2 separate regions of the Homo sapiens genome follow, and region 2 is linked to region 1. Evidence: promoter capture Hi-C in 16 types of primary human blood cells and fetal thymus (Javierre and others, 2016). All regions are on one chromosome and are shown on one strand. Each heading gives the region's core, a stretch centred on a gene start or on the middle of the fragment in contact. The rest is flanking DNA. Distances are from core to core; before and after follow the strand shown.

The links. Contacts are between HindIII fragments. The CHiCAGO score rates a contact against its expected background, and 5 or more counts as called.
Region 2: a fragment that was not itself captured here is called in contact with the fragment with the promoter of TRIM56 in region 1 in 1 of 17 cell types (neutrophils); the score reaches 5.5 in neutrophils.

What each region holds. Positions count from the first base shown.
Region 1 is chr7:101,083,120-101,088,648 of GRCh38, reverse strand. It overlaps TRIM56 (tripartite motif containing 56), which reads right to left and starts at 3,168. Exons shown (of 3, transcript NM_030961.3): 1 at 3,078-3,168; 2 at 1,481-1,643; 3 at 1-1,337. The coding sequence starts at 1,336. RefSeq lists enhancers at 196-835, 836-1,476, 3,558-3,607, 4,311-4,811. The HindIII fragment of the contact is 9,878 bases long and covers 1-3,558 here.
Region 2 is chr7:100,550,171-100,555,699 of GRCh38, reverse strand. AGFG2 (ArfGAP with FG repeats 2) reads right to left here. Exons shown (of 12, transcript NM_006076.5): 3 at 5,189-5,304; 4 at 2,200-2,353; 5 at 1,442-1,607; 6 at 1-90. Among named protein-coding and RNA genes, the nearest start is that of AGFG2, 14 kb to the right of the region's middle. The HindIII fragment of the contact is 8,538 bases long and covers 1-5,529 here.

The DNA of each region.
Region 1 (5,529 bases), core at 1,919-4,418:
CCTCGTGGGGTGTCTGGGCCCTGTCCTCCTCCAAGGTCTGGGCTCCCTCTTCTCGGGTTGTCTGGGCTTTTTCCTCTTTTGGGGTCTGGGCTCCATCTCCAGCCTGGGGCTGGACTCCACCCTGTCTCTCAGTCTTCGGCTCATCCTCCCTCCGGCTCTGGCTCTCCTCACCTCCCTGGGTACCAGCTCCGTCTTTCCCACCATCCTTCTGGGGCTGCTGCTCCTCAAAGGACAGCCGAAGAAGGTGGCAGTTCTTGTCCAGGAGCCCAGGATGGAGCTCCAGCTGTGGGAGCAGGCAGGGGGCCGGGCCTGGTGCCCAGGGGCAGCCCTGCAGCTGCCTGAGCCGCTGTGCGATCGCCCCTTCCAGGGAGAGGATCTCGGCCTCTCGCCCCAGGCTGAGTACCCGGCGGGCGAAGGCGGCTGCGGCCCTGGCCACCTGCTCCCGGCCCTCAAGCTCCGCCAGCCTCTCCCGAGCAGCTTCTTCGGCAGCCTCCACGTGGGCTCGTAGCTGCCCCAGCACCTCCTGCTTCTGGGCCAGCAGGGCCCGGAGGACGCCCTCAGCCGCCTCCTCCACCTGAGTCCCCACCCGGGCCGCCTGCTCCCGCAGCCGGGCTAGCGCCTCCTTCTCCACCCTCCGCGCTGCCTCCAGCTCCACCAGGTTATTGTCCACACCGGCCAGCAGTCCCTCCAGGCCCGGCCTCCGGGCACGCACAGCTTCAGCCAGAGGCAGGCAGGGGTGGTCCAGGTGGGGGTCTAGGCGGCACTCTCTGCACAGCAACTGTGAGCAGGGCTGGCACAGGAAGCGCAGTGCCTCCCCGGGGTGCTGGGGACACTGGGCCGCTTGGCGCTCCCGGGCCTCCTCATCATACCACCCGGCCCTGTAGCCCACCAGGTCCACCACGCGGTGGGTGTGGGTCTGGCGGGTGCAGCGGTGCCCGTCGGCACAGGCCTGGCACAAGTCATCGGCACAGTCCAGGCACCGGGCCGTGGCCGGCCCCCCGGTGCTGGTGCCACCCACCAGGGGACACAGGGCACAGGCTGGCTTCCCGGCACGCAGGTCTCCACAGGCCCGGGCCTTCACCAGGTCCAGCAGCCCATTGACGAAGAAGTTGGTCTTGAAGGAGGCCACACCCTCGGGCGGCACAGGCACTGTCTCGCGGCACTCGGGGCAGCGGACGCGGCCGCCATCCGCCAGCTGTGCCAGGCAGTCTTGGCAGTAGGTATGCAGGCAGGGCAGTGTCTTGGGTGCCCGCAGCTGCTCCAGGCAGATTTTACAGGCCAGGAAGTCGCTGCTCAGGGCCTCCAGGAGGGAGGGCGAGGACCCGTGGGAAACCATGCTGCAGGCAGAGGCGTCAGGATCAGAGTTGAGAAGGCACCTTCACCAGCTCACCCTCTAGCTTCTACCGCCCGTCCTCAAGCCCCACGGATCCCCAGGGCTAGGGGCTGACCCAAATGGCCGGGAAGGAACCTGAGGTCTCACCTGAATGGCCAGGAACTTCCTTCTAGTCTTCTGAGGCCTTGGGCCACTTGCTCTTGAGCTAAGGAGCTGCCCTCCTCCTTCTCCTCCTCCTCCTCCACTTCCGTGTGTACATCCAGCAAACGTAAAAATGTCAGTGCTACTTGTTGGGTCAGACCTGTGAGAACTGACAAGACCAGGAGTCCCTGGCCTTAGCTAATAATCGAATCCTCAGTGTCCCCAGTCCACAGGCCTTGTGGCAAACATGGTGGAAGCCCTCCTGTGTGCACAGGTACTGGGGTCCTGCTGTATAGGGTGCCAGGGTGCGAGGAGCAGGCAGTAAGGACACAGACGGGGATCCCAGTGGGCAGAGATGCCTAGGTCCTGCCAGTTGGGGTAGGATCTTGCAGTAGCTTAGGGGGCTTTAATCCTCCAAGCCCCATACACCTGCCTTCTTTTTATTTTATTTTAGTTTTTAGCAATAGGGTCACCCTCTGTCACCCAGGCTGGAGTGCAGTGGCGTGATCGTAGTTCACTGCAGCCTCAAACTCCTAGACTCAAGTCTTTTGAGTAGTTGGGAGTACAGGCATGTGCCACCATGCCCAGCCTTTTTTTTTTTTTTTTTTTTTTTTGAGACAGAGTCTCACTCTGTTGCCCAGGCTGGAGTGCAGTGGTGCGATCTTGGCTCACTGCCACCTCCACCTGCCAGGTTCAAGTGATTCTCCTGCCTCAGCCTCCCGAGTAGCTGTGATTACAGGTGCGCACCATCACACCCGGCTAATTTTTGTATGTTTAGTAGAAATGGAGTTTGGCCCTATTGGCCAGGCTGGTCTTGAACTCCTGACCTCAGGTGATCCGCCCTCCTCGGTCTCCCAAAGTGCTGGGATTATAGGCGTGAGCCACCATGCCCAGGGGCCCAGCCAGCCCATTTTTTAAAAATTATCACTTTTTGTAGAGATGGGGTCTTGCTATGTTGCCCAGGCTGGTCTCCAACTCCTGGCCTCAGGCTATCCTCCCGTCTCGGCCTTCCCAAAGCATTAGGATTACAGGCATGAGCCACCGCACCCGCCTGGCCTTACACCTGTCTTCTGCTAGACCTGGGGCAGCATCGCGGGTGGTGGAGGCCCCACTTTCTGCATTTAACAGTTTCTAAAGCGGATTCTGGAGCGGGCAGAAAAAACGCTAGGGGAAGGGCTGGTCCCCTTCCCGCTGCTGGCTCACCCTCTGATAGACTTGGCCTTGGCTTATCTCCTGGAGTCCTGTTCTTTTAGCTTTTCCTGCTGAATGCATTCCAGAAACCTCTGGAGGGAGGGAGTCCCGAGCTCCTGGCACAGTGGCTGAGACCTACTTGTTGGGCAGACTAGGTGGAATGTCCCCTTTTCTGGAGCTGGGAGGAGACCTCAGAGAGTGGGACGGGGTCTTTCTTGCGGGGACCTGTGGCCACGGAGCGGGAGGGAGGCGAGTGCAGTTTCCCTCCTGCCCTCTCCTCCTGCCTTCCGGGTGCCTCTTCACGCCCTCCCTTTCCTTCCCTTCCTCCTCCTCCCGCGCTCTCTCTCCACTCCCCTCCCCCTACTCCCTCCGCTCGGTCCTTCCTATAGCTGTGCCGCCCCCCACCCCTTACCTAGCCAGAGCTGATCTTGACCTCTAGGATGGTGAGGGGGCCTGAGGCCTGGAGGCCGCCGTTGCTGGGTGCCTGGAAAAGAAACAAAACTGAAACTAATTGTACTTGTGGTGCAACTTCCGTCCCAGCCAGGGACACACCGACTCGCCTCGCACAGCCTCAGGCCCCGCCTTCCTCCCCACCCGGCCCCGTCCTCTCCCGCCAAGGCCCCCACCCCGGCAGGCAGCTGGCAGGCTTGGGCTGGAGTCCACCAGCCAGGTCGGCCTGTCAGTCCAGCCTCAGGGCTAAGTGTGTGTATGTCACAAACAGGGAACTACCTGAGGGCGGGTTCTCTGAGTAGAGGGTGGAGGGTCACAGGGTTTATTTGTGGGAAGAAATGAGAGCTCATCTGTGATTCAGAGACCAGGGTAACTAGACACATGGCCTCAGGGCGGGTCTGCAGATTTGCTAACACCTCAGGCAGGCAGGTGCCTGCAAAGCTTCAAGAGAGGCCTTTCATTCCATAAACCGTTGCTGAGCTGTAGGAGAGGCTGTGGGGGATCAGGTAAGAAGCCTCTTGCTGAGGGAACAGCACAGGCTTCCTGGAGAAGGCATCAATGAGATGAGTTTAAAGAAGGCGGGAGGATTGCTTCAGCCCAGGAGTTCAAGACCAGCTTGGGCAATATGGTGAGACCCAGTCTCCATAAAAAATTCGCTAGCCGTGCATGGTAGCGCATACCTGTAATCCCAGATACTCAGGAGACTGAGGCAGGAGAATCACTTGAACCTGGGAGGTCGAGGCTGCAGTGAGCCATGATGGTGACACTGCACTCCAGCCTGGATGACAGAGCAAGACCCTGTCTAAAAAATAAAACAGTAAGAGGGCATAGAGGGCTGGAGAACACTGAGAAGAATGTTCCTGTTCCAGGTACTGGGAGCAGCAAGGGTACATCCCCATTTAGGATGATGTGTGTGGAGAGGATACGAGAGTGTTGGCAGAGAAGCCTGCATTTTATCAAAAAAGACAAAAGAATCATTGCAGGAGATTTCCCTCAACATTTCATGAAAAAATAATTTTTATTTTGAGACAAAGCCTCGCTCTGTCGCCCAGGCTGGAGTGCAGTGGTGTGATCTTAGCTCACAGCAACCTCCGCTTCCCGGGTTCAAGCGATCCTCCTGCCTCAGCCTCCAAAGTAGCTGGGATTACGGGCACTCACTGCCACGCCCAGCTAATTTTTGTATTTTTAGTAGAGATGGGGTTTCACTATGTTGGCCAGGCTGGTCTCGAACTTCTGACCTCAAGTGATCCACCCACCTTGGCCTCCCAAAGTGCTGGGATTACAGGCGTGAGCCAACATGCACAGCCTCATTTTATGAAAAATTCAAAGCACAAAGAAGTTGAAAGAATTGCGGTGAACACCCATATCTCCACCACTTCTGTTCTACAATTATCATTTTACCGTAATTAATTCATGACATACCTATGCATGTTTGTACCTTTTTATCCACATGGCGGAATTTAAGTAGGAAACTGAAGCTGTAAGAGCTCACTCTGGCAGCAGCCGAGAGGACAGAAGGGAGCCTGACCTCAGGGTCCAGGTGAAAGGTGGAGGGGCTGAGACATAGATGCCAGAGAGGTAGGTGGAAATCCAAAAGAGAGAGGGTCACAGAGGCCAAGGCAGGAAATGCTGCACTTCTAGAAGGACGAGGGGGTCAGCACTGTTGAATGCTACCAACCAGACGGGCAACCAAGGTGAAGACAGAAAAACAGGCCAGGTGCAGTGGCTCACACCTGTAATCTCAGCACTTTGGGAGAATCACTTGAGGCCAGGAGTTCGAGACCAGCCTGGCCAACATGGCAAAACCTCGTCTCTACTAAAAAACAAAACAAAACAAAACAAAACCTAGCCTTCCTAGCTACTCGGTAGGCTGAGGCAGGAGAACTGCTTAAACCTGGGAGGCAGAGGTTGCAGCGAGCCTAGATCGCACCATTGCACTCCAGCCTGGGCAACAGAGTGAGACTCCATCTCAAAAAATATATATATTAGCTACCTGATGGCTCACACCTGAAGTCCCAGCTATTCAGGAGGCTGAAGCAGGAGGTTCGCTTGAGCCCAGGACTTCAAGGCTGCATGTGCCATGATCTATGCCACTGCACTCCAGCCTGGGTGACAGATCAAGACTCTCTCTACAAAAAAAAAAAATTAAAATTAAAATTAAATTCCCTGTTGTGAATCTCGTAAGGTCTTAATATAATGGTCAAGGAAGGCCATTATAAGGCTTCCAGCAGGGAAGTTTGGACTTTGTCCTATAGGTATTAGAGGGAGTGGCCAGCACAGACATTTGTTTGTTTGTTTTTTGTTTGTTTGTTTGCAGAGATGGGGTCTTTCTATGTTGCCTAGGCTAGTCCTGGGATTATAGGCATGAGCTACCAGGCCCGGCCCCCAGCAGAGGTTTTTAATCCTAAATTATA
Region 2 (5,529 bases), core at 946-3,445, 530 kb after region 1:
CAGCTGGAGGGAGGCTTCCAAACACAGAAGAGCTGGGGCCACTGCTAAAGGCATCAAAGTTGGCAAAGCCTCCTTGGGAAGGTGTCTGGCCTGTAGGTGGAAGAAACATAAAGGTTATATAGAAAATTGTCGGGTGTGGTAGCTCACGCCTGTAATTCCAGCACTTTGGGAGGCCGAGGTGGGCAGATCACTTGAGGTCAGAAGTTCAAGACCAGCCTGGTCAACATGGTGAAATCTGTCTCTACTAAAAATATAAAAATTAGCTGGGCGTGGTGGTACATGCCTGTAATCCCAGCTACCTTGGAGGCTGAGGCATGAGAATTGCTTAAACCTGGGAGGTGGAGCTAGCAGTGAGCCGAGATTGTGCCACTCTACTCTAGCCTGGGTGACAGAATGAGACTCTGACTCAAAAAAAAAAAAAAAAAAAAAAAAAAAACCACACACACACAACAGAAAAAGAAAAGAAAATGTATATGCCTATCCATGTAATATAGCTACTAATTCTAAAGGCCAAAGGCCACTCTTATGGGACATCTGCCTTTCCACAGGGTTCTCTTCAGAGGGAAATGGGTGGGGCCTGGGGCCAAGAGCCAGACCCACACAGGGGAACAGGGGCACCCAGGGCCTCCAGGTTCACTCCCTGCCCTCTTCTGTCCTTACTCCATGAGGCATTAACATTTTTGTCAGGGCCTAGTTTGGAGCATGAAAATTTTTTTTCATGGAGGAAGGAGCTTGAATTTTTTTTTTTTTTTTTTTTTTTTTGAGACGGAGTCTCACTCTGTCACCTAGGCTGGAGTCCAGTGATGCAATTGTGATTCACTGCAACCTCCACCTCCTAGGTTCAAGCAATTCTCCTGCCTTAGCCTCCCAAGTAGCTGGGACTACAGGCACATGCCACCACACTTGGCTAATTTTTTTTTTCTTTTTAGTAGAGATGAGGTTTCACCATGTTGGCCAGACTGGTCTTGAACTCCTGACCTCAGGTGATCTGCCCACCTCAGCCTCTCAAATGCTAGGATTACAGGTGTGAGCCACTGTGTCTGGCTTGAAAATTTTTAAAAAGGGAAAACAGATTCTATGCTGCTGAACCCTCTACTGGCTATTGCTGATTTGGGGGAAGAATAATCTTTGGTGAACTGGAACACATGATAATCCCCCTCCTCCCATTTTAACAGAGACAGAAAATAATAAAAAAGGCTATTTCCAGTGTTCTAAAAGGAAGTGCTAGGAGCCCTCAACTATAATGTTTTAGGATCAAACCCCCAAACATAATCCTGGCTGTACTTATTTGACCCCAGTCCTCCCAGCCTCACTGCTTCAGAGTGACCCTCACATTTGTTTGCATGAGAAGATCTAGAGCCATGGTTACCTCCAGGGACTGGATCTCTCATGTTGTAAGCATATACGCTGTAGGGAGGGTCCCATCCCAAAACCCACTTACCCCCAAAGGCAGGGAATGCAGCAAAAGCTGGTGCCATCTGGGGTGCAGCAAAGGGGTCTCCACCGATGTCAGCCAGCAGGTCAGTACTGGCTTTTTTGACAGAGGAGTGGGGAGGTGGCTGAGTGCTCCGGGCCTGGGATGTCCGAGCGTGAGACTGACTGACGGGCTTGGAGGAGAAGGAATGCATACAGCCCTTAGAATCCCAGACATGCCCCAGGCCCTCCTCTGGCTCCCCAGGTTGCCCTCAGATAGGCAGGTAGAGAGAGAAGACAGTGAGTAACTGCCCTCAACCTAGAAGATTCCTGGGCAGGAGCTGCCTTAGCCCCTCTCAGAGCTCATATCATCCTCATCTTCTCAGTACACCTGCTCCAAGAACCACACATTTTACAGCACATGAGCCAAGGTAACCCTGAGATATACAGGAATACTGCCCAATACTGCCCCCAGGGCTGTTACTCCTCAACCTTCCCAGGTATTGGACACCATATTCCAGCCCCTTCTGTGTTTCTTTGATGGAATGCTCAGGTTTGGAGCTGATATTCTGACTTTCCTAAATACCACTTCCTGTTAGGTTCTGACTTCCAAAAGATATGAGGTCCAGAAGTGACAAATACAAGATACAGGTTAACAGCAGAGCCGAGACCCAACTCACAGCTCCTGCACTGTTGTCTGCTAAGTCCGGGGAATCTGATTCAGGAAACTGACACTCCTGTCTCCCAAATCTCAAAAGAAACATGACGAGCAGATCTGAGAGTTACCTGGCTCGAGGTGGAGGCAGCAACTGAGAGAGACGGTGCAGGATCACCCAGAAGTGTCCGAAGGGGCTTCCCTTCTGGGATGGAGCCCTGCACAGGGGTGGAGGCACTGCCTTTGGTATAAGTGGGCCCCTTGACTTGGTCTGGGGGGACATACCTTTGAGAAAGAATAGTTAGGCTGTAAAGAGAGGGATAAAACTTTGGACCACGCTCAGCTGAGATGTTTGGGAAGACACAGGAGTCAAAATCTATGCTCATTTTTCTCTACTGATTCCCTTTTTTGAAGGGAACCGAGCAACTTAGCAAAGTTCTGCCTATCTTGAGCATCCCCTTGAACATCTTTTGGTTTTTTTGAGACAGGGTCTCGCTGTTGCCCAGGGTGGAGTGCAGTGGGGCAATGTTGGCTCAACACAGCCTTAACTACCTAGGCTCAAGTGATTCTCCTGCCTCAGCCTCCCAAGTAGCTGGGACCACAAACAAGTACATGCTACCATGCCTGGCTAATTTTTTAATTATTTGTAGAGAAGAGGTCTCACTATGTTGCCCAGGGTGGTCTCAACCTCTTGGCCTCAGGTGATCCTCCTGCCTTAGCCTCCAAAGTTCTGGGATTACAGGCATGAGCCACCACACCTGGCAAAGGTCCCCCTCTTTTATTTCCTGGGTGTTTCTTCAGACTCCTTCTTCTCAGCTCCATAGAAAAGCTGCCTGCCGCCTCATCCTCTAGGTGCTCACAATCCACACTTCCATCCTGCCAGCTCCTGCCGGGACAATTCCCTTCCACTACAGTGTATGTGGCCCCTACTCTGTAAGTGTCAGCTTAATCCTGAGGACATCCCTAGGAGGGACTCCACAGTGTGGTCTTATCCACATCAATCTCTTTGTTCTCTGCATTCTCTTCTCTACCTCACAGTTACCTCCCAACATGTACACACCCCAGAGATCCCACAAGAAGTGATACCAGGGGAGAGGAAAGGTAAGGGAGAATGGAGATGCTGTTTCCTTCATCAGGAAGACAAAATATAGTTGTCCCATGGTATCCTCAGGGAACTGGTTCCAGGATCCCCCTGACAATTCCATAATCAGAGGACGGGACACTCAAGTCTCTTATATAATATGGTGAAGTATTTGCATCAAATATGTATATCCTCCAATATACTTTAAATCATCTCTAGGTTACTTATAATACCTAATACAATGTAAATGCCATGCAATAGTTGCTATATTGTATTGCTTTTTATTTGTATTATTATTTTTTTTTTGAGACGGAGTTTCACTCTGTCACCCAGGCTAGAGTACAGTGGCACGATCTCAGCTGACTGCAACCACTGCCTCCCGGGTTCAAGCAGTTCTCTGCCTCAGCCTCCTGAGTAGCTCGGATTACAGGTGCCCATGACCATGCCTGGCTAATTTTTTGTATTTTTAGTAGAGACGGGGTTTCACCATCTTGGCCAGGCTAGTCTTGAACTAGTCCTGACCCTGTGATCCACCCGCCTCGGTCTCCCAAAGTGCTGGGATTACAGGCATGAGCCACCACACCTGGCCTTATTTGTATTATTTTTTATTGTTGTATTGTTATTTTTTGTGTTCCCTACTTTTTTTTTTTTTTTTTTTTTTTTTTGAGACAGTCTCTCTCTCTTTGCCCAGGCTGGAGTACAGTGGCATGATCTCAGCTCACTGCAACCTCCGCCTCCTGGGTTCAAGCAATTTTCCTGCCTCAGCCTCCAGAGTAGCTGGGATTACAAGTGTCCACCCCCACACCCAGCTAATTTTTTTTGTATTTTTAGTAGGGACGGGGTTTCACCATGTTGGCCAGGCTAGTCTCGAACTCCTGACCTCAAGTGGTCTGCCCACCTCAGCCTCCCAAAGTGCTGGGATTATAGGCGTGAGCCACCTTGCCTGGCCTATTTTCCCAAATATTTTTGATGTGAGGTTGATTGGATCCATGGTTGCAGAATCTACAGATACAGAGGGCTGACTGTACATATAAATCATGAAACAAGGCCGGGCACGGTGGCTCACGCCTGTAATCCCAGCACTTTGCGAGGCCAAGGCAGGCAGATCATTTGAGCCCAGGAGTTTCAGACCAGCCTGGGCAACGTGGTGAAACCTCATTTCTACAAAAAATATAAAAATTAAGGCCGGGCGCAGTGGCTCACGCCTGTAATCCCAGCACTTTGGGAGCCAAGGTGGGCGGATCACGAGGTCAGGAGATCGAGACCATCCTGGCTAACACGGTGAAACTCCGTCTCTACTAAAAATACAAAAAATTAGCTGGGTGTGGTGGCGGGCGCCTGTAGTCCCACCTACTCGGGAGGCTGAGACAGGAGAATGGCGTGAACCTGGGAGGTGGAACTTGGAGTGAGCCGAGATCACGCCACTGCACTCCAGCCTGGGTGACAGAGCGAGACTCTGTCTCAAAAAAAAAAAAAAAAAGAAATATATATATATATATATATATATATATATATATATAAATTAGCCAGGCATGGTGGCACACACCTGTAGTCCCAGTTACTGGGGAGGATGAGGTAGGAGGATCACCTGAGCTCCAAGAAGCTGAGACTGCAGTAAGCTGTGACTGTGGCACTGCACTCTAGCCTGGGCAACAGAGTGAGACCTTGTCTCAAAAAAAAAAAAAAATCATAAAATGATGGGTTAAAGGAATAAAACTATAGGATGTGTGCTTCCAGCCATCTCTCCCCATACATAAGATCAGCTGAGCTATAAAAATGAACACCCACAGGCCTACCTCCCGACTCCAATCAGTCTACTATCTCTCCAAAAGAGAGGACATAAAATCTGCAGGGTTAGTGACTGAGAACAAGTTGTCCTTTCATGTAGATTTATTTTAGCCGTAACTGAATGTGAGTGGAACAGAATCGACCCAAGTCTAGTCTTTTGTGAGAAGGCCAAATTCAACTCTAGAAACTGGACTGTCAGATGAAGAATGTCTTGAACACGTTTCCATAGCAACCTCTTTCCTACTCCTTACCATCTCTTCTTCTCATATTTTTCCTGGAGAAACTCCTTCACTTTCTGAGGATCCCTGGAATCTGGTACTAAAGATGTCCGAGCATCAAACAGACCCAACCAAATCTTCCGGCAAACCTAAAAGAATGAAGGTGTCAGAGGAGTGGGAGCAGAAAGCAGGAAATACAAAAAATACCACTTCCTTTTTTTTTTTTTTTTTTTTTTTTTGAGACGGAGTCTCGCTCTGTCGCCGGGCTGGAGTGCAGTGGCACGATCTCAGCTCACTGCAACCTCCACCTCCGGGGTTCAAGCAATTCTCCTGCCTCAGTCTCCCAAGTAGCTGAGACTATAGGCATGCGCCAC